Regions from separate parts of the Homo sapiens genome. Here region 2 is linked to region 1. The links are contacts of gene promoters, found by promoter capture Hi-C in human tissues and cell types (Jung and others, 2019). All regions are on one chromosome and are shown on one strand. The core of a region is centred on a gene start or on the middle of the fragment in contact, and the rest is flanking DNA. Distances in the headings are between cores, read along the strand shown.

Region 1 (7,271 bases), core at 3,215-5,714:
ATAAATAATACAGCACATCAATAACATAATTTTAAGTACAGATAAGTCGTATGCAAGAAAAAAACTGCAAGAACTTCAAGAGGTTAGAGGGTGACGAGGAAGGCTATTTTCAAATAAATTAAGTAAGGACTGAATGAAATGAGAGGATGAGCTATGTCTTCATTGGGAGAAAGCATTACAGGCAGAACAGCAAGCAAAGGCCCAGGCAGAAACTAACCTGACATGCTGGACCTACAGCAGTGACGATGGCGAGGCTGGAAGAGAGTGAGCAGGGCAGAGAGCAGCAGATGAGACTAGAAGGGTGTGCCAGAGCCCAGTCACCGTCTCTTGATCATGGTATTAAAAAAAAAAAAAAAAAAAATCCTGATTTTTTTTCAGATGGGGTCTCACTCTATTGCCCAGGCACAAACATGGCTCACTGCAACTTTGACCTCCTGGACTCAAGCAATCCTCCCGCCTCAGACTCCCATGTAGCTGAGACCACAGATATGCACCACCACGCCTGGCTAAAACGTTTTTATTTTATCTAACAATAATGGGTTCTGACGACTGAGATATAACCTGCTTTGATTTACCTCTTTTAAAGTTCATGCTGGCTGGTGGGAGACAGAGAGTGGAAGCTGACAAACCAGTTGGGGGGCTCCTGCAGTCATCCAGGCCAGGGAAGAATACAGTTTGACACCAGGGTGGTGGTGGTGGCAGTGCAGGTGATAGGAATGGTCAAATTAACTTTTTAAAAAAGATGGTCCAATCTGCAGTGATTTTGAAGGTAGAGCCCATAATACTTGCTGTTGAAGGAATAGATTTAGAATGAGTGAAATGGGGAATTAGAATTTTTAGCCTCAGCAACTGGTGGATGGTGGTACCATTGACTGAGATGGAGAAGAATGAGAAACTGTAGCCAATGAGGCAGGATGAAAATCAGAAAGAGCGGTGTCCCAGAAGCCAAGGGGAAACGACATTTTGATAGGGAAGGAGTTATCTGTTGCCTGTGTCAAATGTGGCTGAAGATCCAGTTTGGCAAGACTGACATCCCTGGTGACCTGGAGAAGAATTGTTTCATGGAGTAGGAGGGATAATGTGTCTCTGAAGCGGGTTCAGAAGAAGATGGCAGATAAGGAGTAGAGACAGCCTACATGGAGTCCCTTCAAAGATTTTCTTTTTGAAGCAAAGCTGCATTGTTATTGTTTGAAGTTTTATTTTTAACTTTTCATTTCTCCCAGTGCTGGGATTACAGGTGTGAGCCACCGCGCCTGGCCTGTTTCATGTTTTCATTTCTCTTCTTCCACGTTGGAAACCCTAGTTCCCAAAATATCAATGAATTTACTCATTTGCTCAATCCTATAATGCACACAAAATAGTTTCAGAATTGCTACACCTCTACCATACAAATAATAGCCTACTACACAGAGTTCAAGATTATTTTTTCAGTTCTTTAATCTTTAATCCTGTGCTCAAAACTTACTTGGTTTTTTTTTTTTTCTTCTGGGAGTTTATATTATTCACATAAATACACGGTTTGTTGTTGCTGTTTGTATTGTTTTGGAGTCCCACTCTCCACATCTTGTTAATTTTATTTTTGAACATAAAAAAGACTAACAGTTTCCAAAACTCAAAACTATGCAAAAAAGTACATTCAGAACAAGGCCATTCCTTCTGTTGTTCCCATTTACTCAGTTCCTACCCGGTGCCTGTAGGTAACTAATTAGTTTCTGGTTCTCACTCCTGTATTTATTTTTTGTTCTGTCAAAAAACTACGCTTCCTCAAGGTGAGGTAGAGAAATGAGGCAGGGCCAGACGCCGTGGCTCACGCCTGTAATCCTAACACTTTGGGAGGCTGAGGTGGGTGGACTGCTTGAGCCCAAGAGTTCAAGACCAGCCTGGGCAACACAGCGAGATCCCGCTTCTATTTATAAAAATAAATAAATAAAAAGAAATGAGGCAGTCACTGAAGCAGAACACTGGATCAAGAAACCATTTTATTTTAAAATGGCAGACTGTACAATAATGTAAATGATTCTGTAGTAACTGACAAATTGAAGGTGCAGGAGAGAGTATGATAAATTGCAGAGGGAAATATCCATCAAAATATCCTCTAGTTTAATTTGAGGGATATCAAAGGGTTCTCATATCCCAAAATTGACCGCAATCCTGTTTGTAACCTTCCAAATTAGTTATAACTCTATCTCTAGAGAACCCACATTAAAATGGAGTTACTGTTTTATCAAGATAATTAAGCCATCACTACCTATTAATATCAATAGGATACACTGTGCCCTGGCAAAAGGGAGGTTTTGAACTTGGAACAAGACATTTAACTAGGAGTAGAGTGGTGAGAAGAGAATGGCTGATGTGAGAAGCTGTATAAAAACATGGGACAGACAATAATGATCATGCTGGAAAAACAAACATGCTTCTGGCATGTCTTGGATATTTTACACACATGCTAATGAGTAATTGAGGGTCACTCCTCATGCCCTCGAACTAAGTTAATATGGCTCAGGGGAAAGAACATGGACTTTGGAAACAGAGGGGTCTTGCTTCGAATCCCAGTTGAGTTACCTAACACCTACATGACCACTGCCAAGTTACTTAAAACCTCACAGACAATTTCCTTACCTGTGGAAGTAGATAATGGTGTTACTGTGAGATATAAGTAGAATAACTTACAGCACTGCCCCAGCCCAGAAGAGATATTTTAATAAATAAGTCCATAACAGACGCAGATTAAAATAGTCAGCAAGGTAAAGAAACTGATGATACAGCCAGCTGACTTCAATAACATGCCTAAGAGAAATCACACCATCTCAGGCAGTATTTGGTAAGGCCAGAAGAATGTCCAACACTTAGTTCCAATTCTTAATTTTCAAATTGCCCCAGAGTCTATTTTTAAAGTGTAAAAGTATGTGCTGACATACTTACATGCCAATTGTTTAAAAGAAACAATTCTACAGGTTAACAAAGGCCAAAGACTCGGAATAACTTCCTAAATAATGTTTATGGGCCCACAAAGAGTTGAACCAACCTAAAATATCACAAGCTGTATCAATCAGTTTTATAAATGTATATACAGAGGGTTGACAACGTTCAATAAGATGATATTTTAAAAGTTTCTATTTCAGTTTCAAATTCATCTACAAACCAAAATGCAACATGGAAAATCTTAAAATGTCTTTAAGCCACATACTGAAATATACAGTAAATTTTCAGAGCCTAGGATCAGTAGTAAACCAAAAGCCCCAAACTGAAGAGTATTAAAATGAACAATGGCAGAGACTCGAAGCACACAATTTTGAATGCACCTAATCAGCCGTCCTCCTCTCCGACTAGAAATAACTTCCCTCCCATCTTAAATTAAGTAGCGTGTGTTCTGTCTCTGTCCTAGAAGATGTACTTAATGGTCATAAACTCTGTTTGCAACACTGAGACGGACTCATAATAAAAGTTCTAATCAACAATTAAATTTTGAACGTTTTAAGAAAACTTCCCGCTAAGCCACACGCCAAGCTACTTTGTCGGTGGCTGAGAGGGAGAAAGATGCATCCTTATCCTTTATGGAAAGAGAAAGGGAAGGAGTGGGAGAAAAGGGAACACAAGGAGACGAAAAATAACAAAGTATTGCTTGTATAAACAAATGAAAGCCTGGTTTCAAACTTTTGAAAATTCAACGTTCCCTTAGCGAATAGCAATACATATCAAAGTATATGGCAATCATCTGTGTTCTGAAGCAGAAAAAGGTGGAGAGAAAAGCAAAACACTTTTTATTGTACTGAACTCACAAGTATTCAAAATTCATCAATCCCCTCCCATCCCCAAACTCTGGACATTATATCATTTCCAAAATAAATCTGAAACAAAACCATTGGACTAATTTTGGACTCAGCGTAGAACTTTTATGAGTCTTCCAAGCACTCTCCACCCAACAGCCCTGCTGGGCAGTCCCGAATACCCGTTATTTTGGGGGCACGCACGGGCTCGTGCTCTGAGTTCCTGGAAGGAGGCCTCGGGGAGTGACGAGAAACCAGGGGGGTCTGCAGGACTTGGACCGCCGACCGTTCCTCGCTCCCCGGGGCGAGCGGTCTGGACCGCCCGGGAAGTGCCTGCGCCGGCGGTCGTGGGGCCAGTTCCCGCGTGGCAGCTGGGCGCGACACAGGCGCGCCCTCCTCGTCCCTCCCGGGCAGCGTCGGCCGCCCGAGCCCGGGGAGACCCGCCCCGCCCCGCGCCGTCACCCGGGCCCCGTTCCGCAGGGGTGGCTCGCGGCGCCCCACGTCCCTGCGAGAAGCCCGGGATCGCTTCGCGGGGCGCACCGACGAGCCGCCGCTCGCGAGCTCGCCGCCTACCTGGAGGGAGCTCAGGCCCGCGTCGACCGCGCGCTGCCGGTGTCCGCTGGGCGCTCAGCAGCCCCTGGAGCGCGGAGCCGGCGTGGAGAGCGCAGCTCACAGCCGAGACCAGAGCCGCCGGCCACACCCAGTCCCGCACCTCCCAGCAGCCAACTCCGCGGCGCGCCGGAGCCGGGGCGGGGACGTGGCTGGAGGCGCGAGGCGCGAGGCACGAGGCGCGCGGGCCCGGCGGGGACGTGCCGGGGACGCGCAGACCCTCGGAGCGCGCGCAGCCCGGGCGGGGGGCGAAGGGAGCGGGCGCCGCGCGCAGCTTCTGCTTCCTATTTTCTCTCTCGTTTCCTGCCAGAAGGAGAAGAAAAACATTCATTCCCGGGCAGTTTCGTTTTCTTGTTGGTGTGGCGCCGGGGCACGCTGCTAAGTAGCGCCCGTCTAAGTGGCGTGGCCAGTTTCCTTTCCGGCGCTGACAGGCGCCAGTTTGCTTGTTAGCAGGATCGAAGGGCAGAGCTAGAAGACCCCAAAGGCCCCATTTAGGTTTCCCATTCTGGAATTCTAAATGTCAGAAAGTAAACTGAAGCCCAGAGTTGCACAACCTTGCGTTGCAGTCCCCGCTCTTCCATCACTAGTTGTAGGACCGTGTACCGTCTCGGGCCTAAGTTTCGTCATCGCCAAAATAAAGATACTGATACCTGCCTCATAAAGGTGCTAAGCATATTAAATGAAGTGATGTTTGCACGAAGCCTGCCTCCAAATAAATGGCCAATACTTGGAAGTTATTGTTCCTATTGTCATTGATAAAACTGGAAGGCCTTCCAGATATCCCTGCCAAGTCGCTCTTCTCTGCATGAGTTAAACACCACATGCATCTCAATCGAGTTTTTTTTTTTTTCACATTTATCTGGGTGTTTTATGTTTAAAATGTCATAAAATAAATGCATCTATCCAATTTGCTTCCTCTGAAGTCAGTACCGCCTGGGAGCATTTTTCCTCTCCCCACCCCCATTTTTCTTCTGAGTTAATTCCAGTTTGACAGACTGTTGCTATAGCATTCCTTCTCTGACGTCAAACAATTTAAAGAAACAGCCCTGGGTAGCGAAAACTGCAGAGGAGTTCTTTGTGGAGTTTCTGTGCCGGAGAAATGTTCGAACAATATCATCAGATAACTTTAACAACCCCTCAGCCTTCCAATCCTCCTTCTGTAGCTGCTTCCCACTATCACCTGGAATAAATCTATTAGTCCCTTGAAAGAGGTGATGCCATGATAAACACACCCTGTTTGTGACTGTGGGGAAAATGTGACCGTTTTGTATAAAAGCCAGGCCGTGACAAAAATAGAAGCAGCTGTTTCTATTTTCTTTATCCACAGATAAAGAAACTGTGGATAATTTTTCCCCCAAAATTTTCATTTTTACTAATATTAGGAGCATTTTTCCATTAAGAAGAAAGAAATGCCAAATATTCTGCATATCAAAGTGTCAGAAGAGCTCGTTGGGACATGAGTGTTTTGCATCTGTAACTATTTATGTTTTAATGATTAAATCCTGAGTTTTATGATTGTCGTTTTTCGGAGGAAGCAAAGGGAAATTGTTAAAGAGTGCCTATTACGGACCATGCTCTCTGCTTTCTTATACTGTACTTAATCCTCATAATTACCTTGAAGTGTGAATTTTATCCCCATTTTACAGATAAGCAAACTGATGCCCTGGTAAGATTAATTTATCGGAGTCACGAAGGTATTGGTAGAGCCCTGCATGACATCAGATTGGATCAACTCCAAAGCCCACATTCTTTCTTTTTTTTGTTTGTTTTTTTGTTTTGAGACGGAGTCACTGTGCAGTGATGTGATGTCAGCTCACTGCAACCTCCACCTCCAGGATTCAAGCGATTCTCGTGTCTCAGCCTCCCAAGTCTGGGATTACAGGCACAAGCCACCACGCCCGGCTGATTTTTTGTATTTTTAGTAGACACGGGGTTTCACCGTGTTGACCAGGCTGGTCTCAATCTGCTGACCTCAGGTGATCCGCCCACCTCGGCCTCCCAAAGTGCTGGAATTACAGGCGTGAGCCACCGATCCCGGCCCCATATTCTTTCTTTAGATTCTTTTCTGCCTTGTTCCTGTGCACTAGCATTTACCAGATGTTATAAAGCTTTGAGAGCTGGTTGTTGGGTTAAGATTATTTGTTGAAAAACAAGTTGCTGGTATTTAGGAAAACACAGTGGGAAGCAATGAGATAGTCTATTCCAGAAAAGATGAGGGGAAATATAAATGAACAGCTCCTAAACATAAAATACAAAACCTGAAAAGATGTAACAAGAATTTGACTGTCTTTTAAAGAGTTTAAAAGAATGATATCGTCAATCTTCCTGAAAATTTAATGTAGACAAAGAAATTACTAGAAGAATAAAGTCCAAGTACAGAAAAAGGAAAGTTTAATTATTATCCAAACGAATCTACTTCCAAGAATATTGTATTTCTGTTTTGCCATACCTGCTCCATATTGTTCTGGAAAAAAAAAAAAAAACTTACTTGTTAAAGGACAAGCCTATACTGAAAATCTGAAAGTGGAGCTGATTAAAAGAATTTTGTCATCAGGAATGATTTCATAAGAGCACACTAATGCATCTAAGTGATCCAGCAATTCATGATTTTTCCAATGATAATGAAATCCACGAAGAACAAAAGAGAGAGACTGGGAAGGGAGGCAGAGAGAAAGGTGAAGGGGTATGCTATTAACATTTCTGATGCCTGCTGGTTTGTGTAGACAATTGTAGAGATGTATCCTACTTCTGAGGATTAAGCCCCATGATCTTTTGTTTGGGTGCCACTGGCTGATAATTAGATTTCTAACTCATTAGGCCCATGTTCTCAAATCCTACTCTATTAAGAGAGCATAGTGGGGTCCCTACTAGAGAACCTTTGAAGACAAAATCCTT
Region 2 (7,271 bases), core at 2,412-4,911, 520 kb after region 1:
CAAGAGGGAAGTAAACAGTTAAGGAGTGTTTGTAGGGAAGTTTATTCCTGTGAGGGTTCAATAAATAAATGTTGACCAATTACGATAATTCCTAGTAGATGGTTATTTTATACAATTAGAGCACTGAGGCAAAACAGCTTCTTAATCCATTCATAGCATGATCAGTAATGAGCAATGGTACAGAGCTATGTGAGGTGACAGAAAGAGCATGGGACTGGATGGCAGGAGGGAGAGCTGGCTTCTAGGGCTCTTCTGCACCTAATCAGGGAGTTGGGCAACTTAATTCACTTTTCTGGATCTCAAAGTTCTCATTTGCTAAACTGGGGATGAAGGGAGGTGGAGAGTGAAGTGGTGATGCCTAGCTAATTAAAATGACATAAATGTTATACACTTTATAGAGCACTTTTACATATTTTAACTCAGAGAAACTCTAGGAGGTGGGAAAAGCACAGTATCATTTTACAAATAATATCAGAAAACTTATTTGAAAATGAGAAAACTGAGCTTAGAGAGGTTCAAGATTACCAGATTTCCATGTGGATTTAGCCAGACTGCAAACCTGGTTCTTTAAAGGTACCTTTGGTTGTAAATGGCTGTGGTTTTCTTGTTTTCTGGTCTTGTTATTACGTTAAATGCTGATGAATTCCAGTTTTTAGATCCCTGGGTAAATGCCAGGTTGAAGAATGTTAAATTTATCACAAGTTACATATTTTTTCCTCCTTTAAAACTGCATTAGTTGTTTTCTCTGACCCGGTGATTCATAAAGTGTGGTCTGGAACCAGCAGCAGTAGCTGAATACTTAGAAATGCAAATTGTCAGGCTGCACGCATCTCAGACCTGAAGAATAAGAAACCCCGGGGGTGGGATCCAGTAATCTATGTTATATCAAGCCCTCCTGGGGATGCTGAAACAGCTAAAGCTTGAGAACTATTGCTCTGACCTGGATATACTTGTTCCCCTTGTAACTGGCTGAAATTTGACATTTCCCAACCTGCTTGCACTAAAGGCTATGAAACTGCAACTTTGAGTCCTATAACCCAATAAATCCACAACATGCTGTTAAACCCATTTTTACAATACATGAACCTGTAACTGTATCCATCATATAATCAAAATAGTCTATAAATTTATTAGTCTTTGTTACCTCTTTTAAGTCTACTTGGAATTTGAAAACATTTTAAAAAATTGTTATCTAGGTCCAGCTTATCATAAACCTTGAGTTAAGTTGGCTCTAACTAAAAATAGTAATTTATAATAGAATGAATTCACTAAAAGTGGTTAATGTTTTTAATCCCTTAAGTCAAGGCACTTGACTATCTACTCCCACACTTGAAATATCAGTAACTCCAGAAGGAAATTAATGTGTACATGAAACCTAAACAAGACCCTCCTTTCCTCCATTTAGGAAGGAATAGCTTCACAAATAATAAAAATATGCCATAATAGATGTTTAAAATTTATCTTTTAATATTTATTTTACAAAGACAAATATAGCATTTACTAATTAGTTATATTATTTTTATGTCAAATGTTTGGGTTTTGGAGGCATTAAGATTTTAATCCAATACATTCCCTTTGATTACCTTCTACGCTTAAAGTTTGAAAACCTTGGAGATTTCTGGTGGAAAATATGGACTCTGACCCCAGTGTGATACATTTCTATTTAAATGACTGTGTGTGTGTGTGTGTGTGTGTGTCTGTGTGTGTCTGTGTGTCTGTGTATCATATGGCACCTATTACCATAAGACATCAACACTCATTTAAGTGTTCTCTGAAATGTTTTTATACATATCCCAAATAAATTTTGTCAATACAATTTCACAAAGAGAGAAACACAACATTGTCTTTAAAGAATAGAACCTTACACATTTCCGAAATACACTTTTTTTTCCATGTTGAAATAACACAGAAATCATCTTTTACCTCCTTGAGAGAAGGCAGCCAGGGAGAACAAAATCCACATACATGGTGCTGCTTCTGTTATTAATTTGCTTATATAAGCAAGACTGTAGGCTTTCCGTGGAAGTACAAGATTTGCAAATCACATGACTGATAAAATGGCATATAGCATACACAGCATTTGTAGAGTGACAGCTTCTGAATGACAGATTTAAAGAAATTAGGAGACTTCTGCCCATTGCAGCATTCCAATTATTTTATTTATCCTCTTTAGATTTTCTTTTGGCACCACTTACTGAAAAATCTACTTGCAGTTACATGAAGATTAACTATAACATATTTCTACCATGTTTTTGAAAAGATATAGGAAGAATAAACTGAAAATAAAGATTCCTGACAAAATGGCATATAATGCTATAGAGTTTTAATTTTATTATACATATAAAATACATATATATGTATAATGTCATCATATATGTATAACTCATATCTACGAGATGAGGCAATATTCATTTTCTGGAAAACAAATGTACATATACATACACACATGCTTAATTTGTTGACCTCTTAAACTTTGGGATAATTTCTTATAGCTTTATAAAGACCAATTACAGTGTTTCCCCAAATATTTTACTTTGAGATATCAACATTGTCGTTGTTTCAACCTAGGATTTGCTCACAACATCAACACCAAATAAATCTTTCAAAAAAAGGAAGGACTACTCTTTCTGCCAACAGCAAACACCAAAGCCAACTCATATTCATAATTACTCATCTTTTGAAACATGTTTTGACATGAATAACTCAGCAAAGCTGAGTCACTGCCAAACAGTACCAACTTGTGCAATGGCACTGGAAGAAATGTGATAACTACAGAGGCAAACAGCGACTCTGAGAAAATTGAATCCACCCTCATTTGATCCAGGTAATAAAAGTGCTATTTTCTGAAGAAGCAGGAAGGTTTTGTTCTCTTATTTTTTCTCTTTTTTCTTTAAGATTCCTTAACAATTAGTAAAATGTGTTTAGTCACAACAATAGAAATTTTGTCAAAGGTATCATGAGAAAAAAAGAACAATGGCTTCCTTTGGCTTTTCACCACAAGGATCTCAAAATATAACTTTGCAGTTTTCTGAACACCAAAACTCAGTTAAAATGCAAAGATTTAGGCAAAAAAGAAAGAAAGAAAAGAAAAGCTTTGGGGTAGGAAGATAGTAAATAAGAAGAAAAAAAGAATTTAACTTCTATATGATTAAGGAAGAAAATAACTAATTTTTCATTTTATTAGAGAAATGTACACATATCTGTATTCTCATAATATACCCAGGTGTATTTTACTAGTTCATTTGCCAGGTGGGTCCAGTCCTTTGATCAGAATCCCAGTCTATGGGTGGGATCAGACATAGACTGCATGCCCCAAGTATTTAATCTGGCATAAAGTGATAGTTAATAGCCCAGTAGATCACATGGGCTACAGTTCCACCCACCTTATTAACTAAACTGATAACTTGGCACTCCACACATCCCCTACCCTGTTTTACCCAGGAGCAGGAGAGCAATGATAAGAAAAACTCGGAAGCATTTTGAGTGAATGCTGTAAAATCAATATATTCTGCACCTCGGTAGAGAGATGTTTTGGCAAGTTTTTCCAGAAGACCACCTCAGTTACCTCAGTTATTCCAAGACTAACAAGCAAGTCTCTAAGTCAGTTATTTCTGGTTGCTACCTTCTGATGGTCATTTTTCCTTTTTTCAGAAATATGTACAACAGCTCCCTGAATGCAACTGTTATGATGCAAAACAAACTGCATGATTAGGAAATTGAGCAAATTCAGGTGCCTTTCTGTAAATTACTGACTGCTTTCTCTCTAATCTCTTAATCTACTCAGATCTCTTTGAATTATTTCTCTCTCTACAGCTTTTGCGTCGCTCTCAGATGCTGTGCCACCCAGGCATTAAATAAATGTGCAGTTATCTTGTCTCCTTGATAATTAACAGAGATGTTAAGGGCTAGTACCAATTCAGTGGCATGGGCTGGAAACCTTCCATTACCTGGTATGTCATTGTTTATGCTCTATTAAGCAGTTTTCATTTCACCTTATGGGCCCATATAACATCCAAGCTAGTGGTTTCTCAAATTACAGGTGGTACTACAGATTTTATTAAATAGCCTCTTCTTTTTGTTTTCAGAATCATCTTTATATATATTGCAGACAATCTGGAAAATTAAATTGGGCAATATATATGTCTTAAGGTTTTCAGTTTTCTCTCTTTCTCTCTCTCAATTATATCCATTGTTTTACAAGATAGAATAATGGCAGTGTTTCTCATTTTCAAGATAATATATTTTATTGTTCTTGTTTATCTTTTTCCCAGATTATCATTGGTGTTTTGACTCATTTTATCAAGAGATGCCTTTAATTTTCCAAAAGTTCTTTTGTTCTAGCTTTATTTCCATCATTCTTACATACAAAATATGCATGTTGGCATCATGCAAAAGTCAGTGGATCAGAGGCATCATATGGAGCGGCTTAGCTGCTCTCAAAATCTTGTTATGCAGGCTTTAGTCAGACAGGCTAATACAGCTGCCAGAGAAGGGCTGAACACTCAAAAGGCTTTAGTCATCAAAATATACAGTAGAACAGTAGAAAATGTACGTAAGTATTCACTTACCTGCTTTTGATCAACAATTATTTCGAGGTCTTCATCACTGCTTAGTTTTCCATATCCTTGTTCTTTACTTTTCTTGTGAAAGAATAATTTTAAATGATCATTTAGTTTCTATCCATTAACAATCTTAATTCTACTTAATATTTTTAAAGATAAAAGTCTTAGCCTTGTTCACCAGTCATAATGCATCATTCTTTATATAAATTGCTCATGTACAACAGCAAATGTTTTTATTGTTAAACTGCTGTCTTATAATTATTCATTAACAATATCTGCTTAGCCTCCACTACCCAACTTATACCTTTAATCTTTTTCTCAATATTCTTATGCTTCTCTTTTTAGTTCTATAGTATCAGAAAAGATTCTTTAACACTTTGGGATAAATAAGCAATTCTTTGAAGAGCCTTAGCACATTTTTCTTAAAGATTGAAAGTTCATTTAGCTTTATACTCAAGACTTCCAACTATTCAATGTTTTGTTTTAATGTCTTACATATTTTTAAGAATAATAGAAGTATTATGCAACTCAGATAATGAATCTTCAGATTTTCAACATTTGCTCACAAGTCAGATGAATACTGACATTGGAAAAACCAACTCAGAAATAATTTTAAAGAGATAACTAAAATAATTTACAAAATTAGGTATTCGAAAAGTTGGAGGACAGACTATTTTAAGAGTTTATGTAAATGCACTTTTTTTTTTTTGGCATTTTGTCATCATTTATTTTGTCCCAATGACCACTCTCCATCTATTTCCTCCATTGCAAAATCTATAAATTCTAAAGTTAGAAAAGGACATAGATAATGATAATCATTTTACACTTGTGCTACAGCAGAAAGATAATATGTCTGAGCCTTTTTTTCTCCCAACGCAACGGTTGATGAGAATACTAGAAATGTCATGTTGTGTCTTCATACCAGCAACAAATGAAAAATAAAAACCACTACATAGTTAGCTGTAGTTCAAGGTTATTTATTTATTTTAAAGATTCTTGCTTTAGTTATTAACTACATCAACTTGAATTAAGGGAATTAAAAATACTTATGTTTGCATCTACTGTGTCATATTAGGGTCCTCATCTCATTCAGGGAAGAGATATATCCTTCAGTGAACATGATATAAATCTTCACACTGTGAGCACAATTCTTATTTTTTCCCCATAACATTCAAAAACCAGATTTACACATTTTTTTCCCGCAAAAACATATCTCCAATTTTTGTGGGTTTTTTTTTTACTGTAATAAAGAGATTTCTGCATCTTCCAAGTATTAGGATGCATAAATAAAACACAAATTCTCATTTATATATTAATGAACTTAGCCACTCAGAACAGAACAGATGGCCACAGCATTTCTCCCTATTATTATTCTTGTCCTCATTTGAGGTTCCATTTCAAGATTGATGGAAAACAAAAAGAACAAGGTTGGTTTCAGTCAAGCTGACTTCCTTCCTATCATTTTGCTTTTGTATTCTTTTTGTTCACTGGTTGCCATAAGATTTTGTCTAGAGTGTCTCTAATGTAAAACACTTAGAAGTGCCTTTCCAAATATTGATCTGTATACGTACCAAGTAGCTCATTTGCATGACCCGGTTTCTGGACAAAAGGGCATTAAGTAGAGATGGAATGTGGGTCCTTCCATCCATTTCACTGTCAGACATCCCAGAATTCTTTATGCCACTGGCAGTGGCTTCCTTGCCAGAACTTGCTGACCAGAGAACCACAGATCTTGCCCAGGAACAGCATTAATAATGTACAACAATAATTGAAGTATTCCTGAATCATTGTCTTGACTTTGTAAACATTGTGAAATTTTTGGCTAGCACAAAAAACTCACTGAAATGAAAATTTCTTTTTCTAACTAATTTTTATCCATGCACTTCTATGCTCTTTGACTGTTGTTCCCATTTAATGTTTTAAAAAATCTACCTATTTTAAATTATATAATTTTTGTATTTACTTCTCTGCATATGGACTCTTCAGCCTCCTCATCATAAAAGCTCTTGATTTCCCCTTTTTAATCTCCTATTCTAAACTTTCTTGACAATCACTGCTAACAGATAGAATGTCAGCACTCACAGAACATCATTCGAAACTGCAACTTCTACAAATACCAAAGTCCGCCTCTCCAATCTCAACTCCTTATCTAATTTAGTAGTAAATTTTCCTGGGAAGAGGCTAGTTCAGGGAAGGAAATTATGTCCCCCAACCAATCTAAATAGAAGCTGGCATTTTCCAAGAGTGGGAGGAGGCATTTAGAGCTCTGGTTTTGTACTTAAACCTCTAGTCTCCAAACAGCACACAACAGTACACAAAGCTGGAGCCTTACAGTTTTACTCTAGAATTAAGCAATATTTTCTAGTTCACCCCATAACCCCGGGGGGATTAATCCTTTTCTAAGCCATAATGGTATTCACTCACTTACTGCTTATTTCTAGTGCGAGCATAATCCTCTTTCAAGCACTCAGCTTCCCACTTTGCTTAGCTCAGCCAGCCCAGGCAGGGATCTTCAGCTCTCCTCCCTCCTCCCAGCCGGGAATCCCTGTCTTCTATCTATGCACTTTTGTCAAGCACAAAAAGCAAGTCCACAGCTTCTGCGTGGTCTTTCACAGTAGCCAAAGGACTGAACTAGAAGGAAAAAGAAAGCTAATCTCTCCACCTTCCAAGTGTGAGGGGGCAGGGCTTCTGTGGGAGGAGAAGCCACAG

What was found. Contacts are between HindIII fragments. The study calls those that stand out against the background at their distance.
Region 2: a contact is called between a fragment that was not itself captured here and the fragment with the promoter of GNB4 in region 1, in 1 of the 25 tissues and cell types used here (hippocampus).

The regions. Positions count from the first base shown.
Region 1 is chr3:179,447,006-179,454,276 of GRCh38, forward strand. GNB4 (G protein subunit beta 4) reads right to left here and starts at 4,465. Exons shown (of 10, transcript NM_021629.4): 1 at 4,341-4,465. It also overlaps the pseudogene RPL29P34. RefSeq lists silencers at 4,036-4,445, 4,486-4,635. The HindIII fragment of the contact is 18,692 bases long and covers 1-7,271 here.
Region 2 is chr3:179,967,026-179,974,296 of GRCh38, forward strand. It overlaps PEX5L (peroxisomal biogenesis factor 5 like), which reads right to left. Exons shown (of 15, transcript NM_016559.3): 2 at 4,569-4,640. All of the region lies in intron 1 of LOC124909463 (a long non-coding RNA gene), which reads left to right. Among named protein-coding and RNA genes, the nearest start is that of PEX5L, 66 kb to the right of the region's middle. The HindIII fragment of the contact is 3,312 bases long and covers 2,006-5,317 here.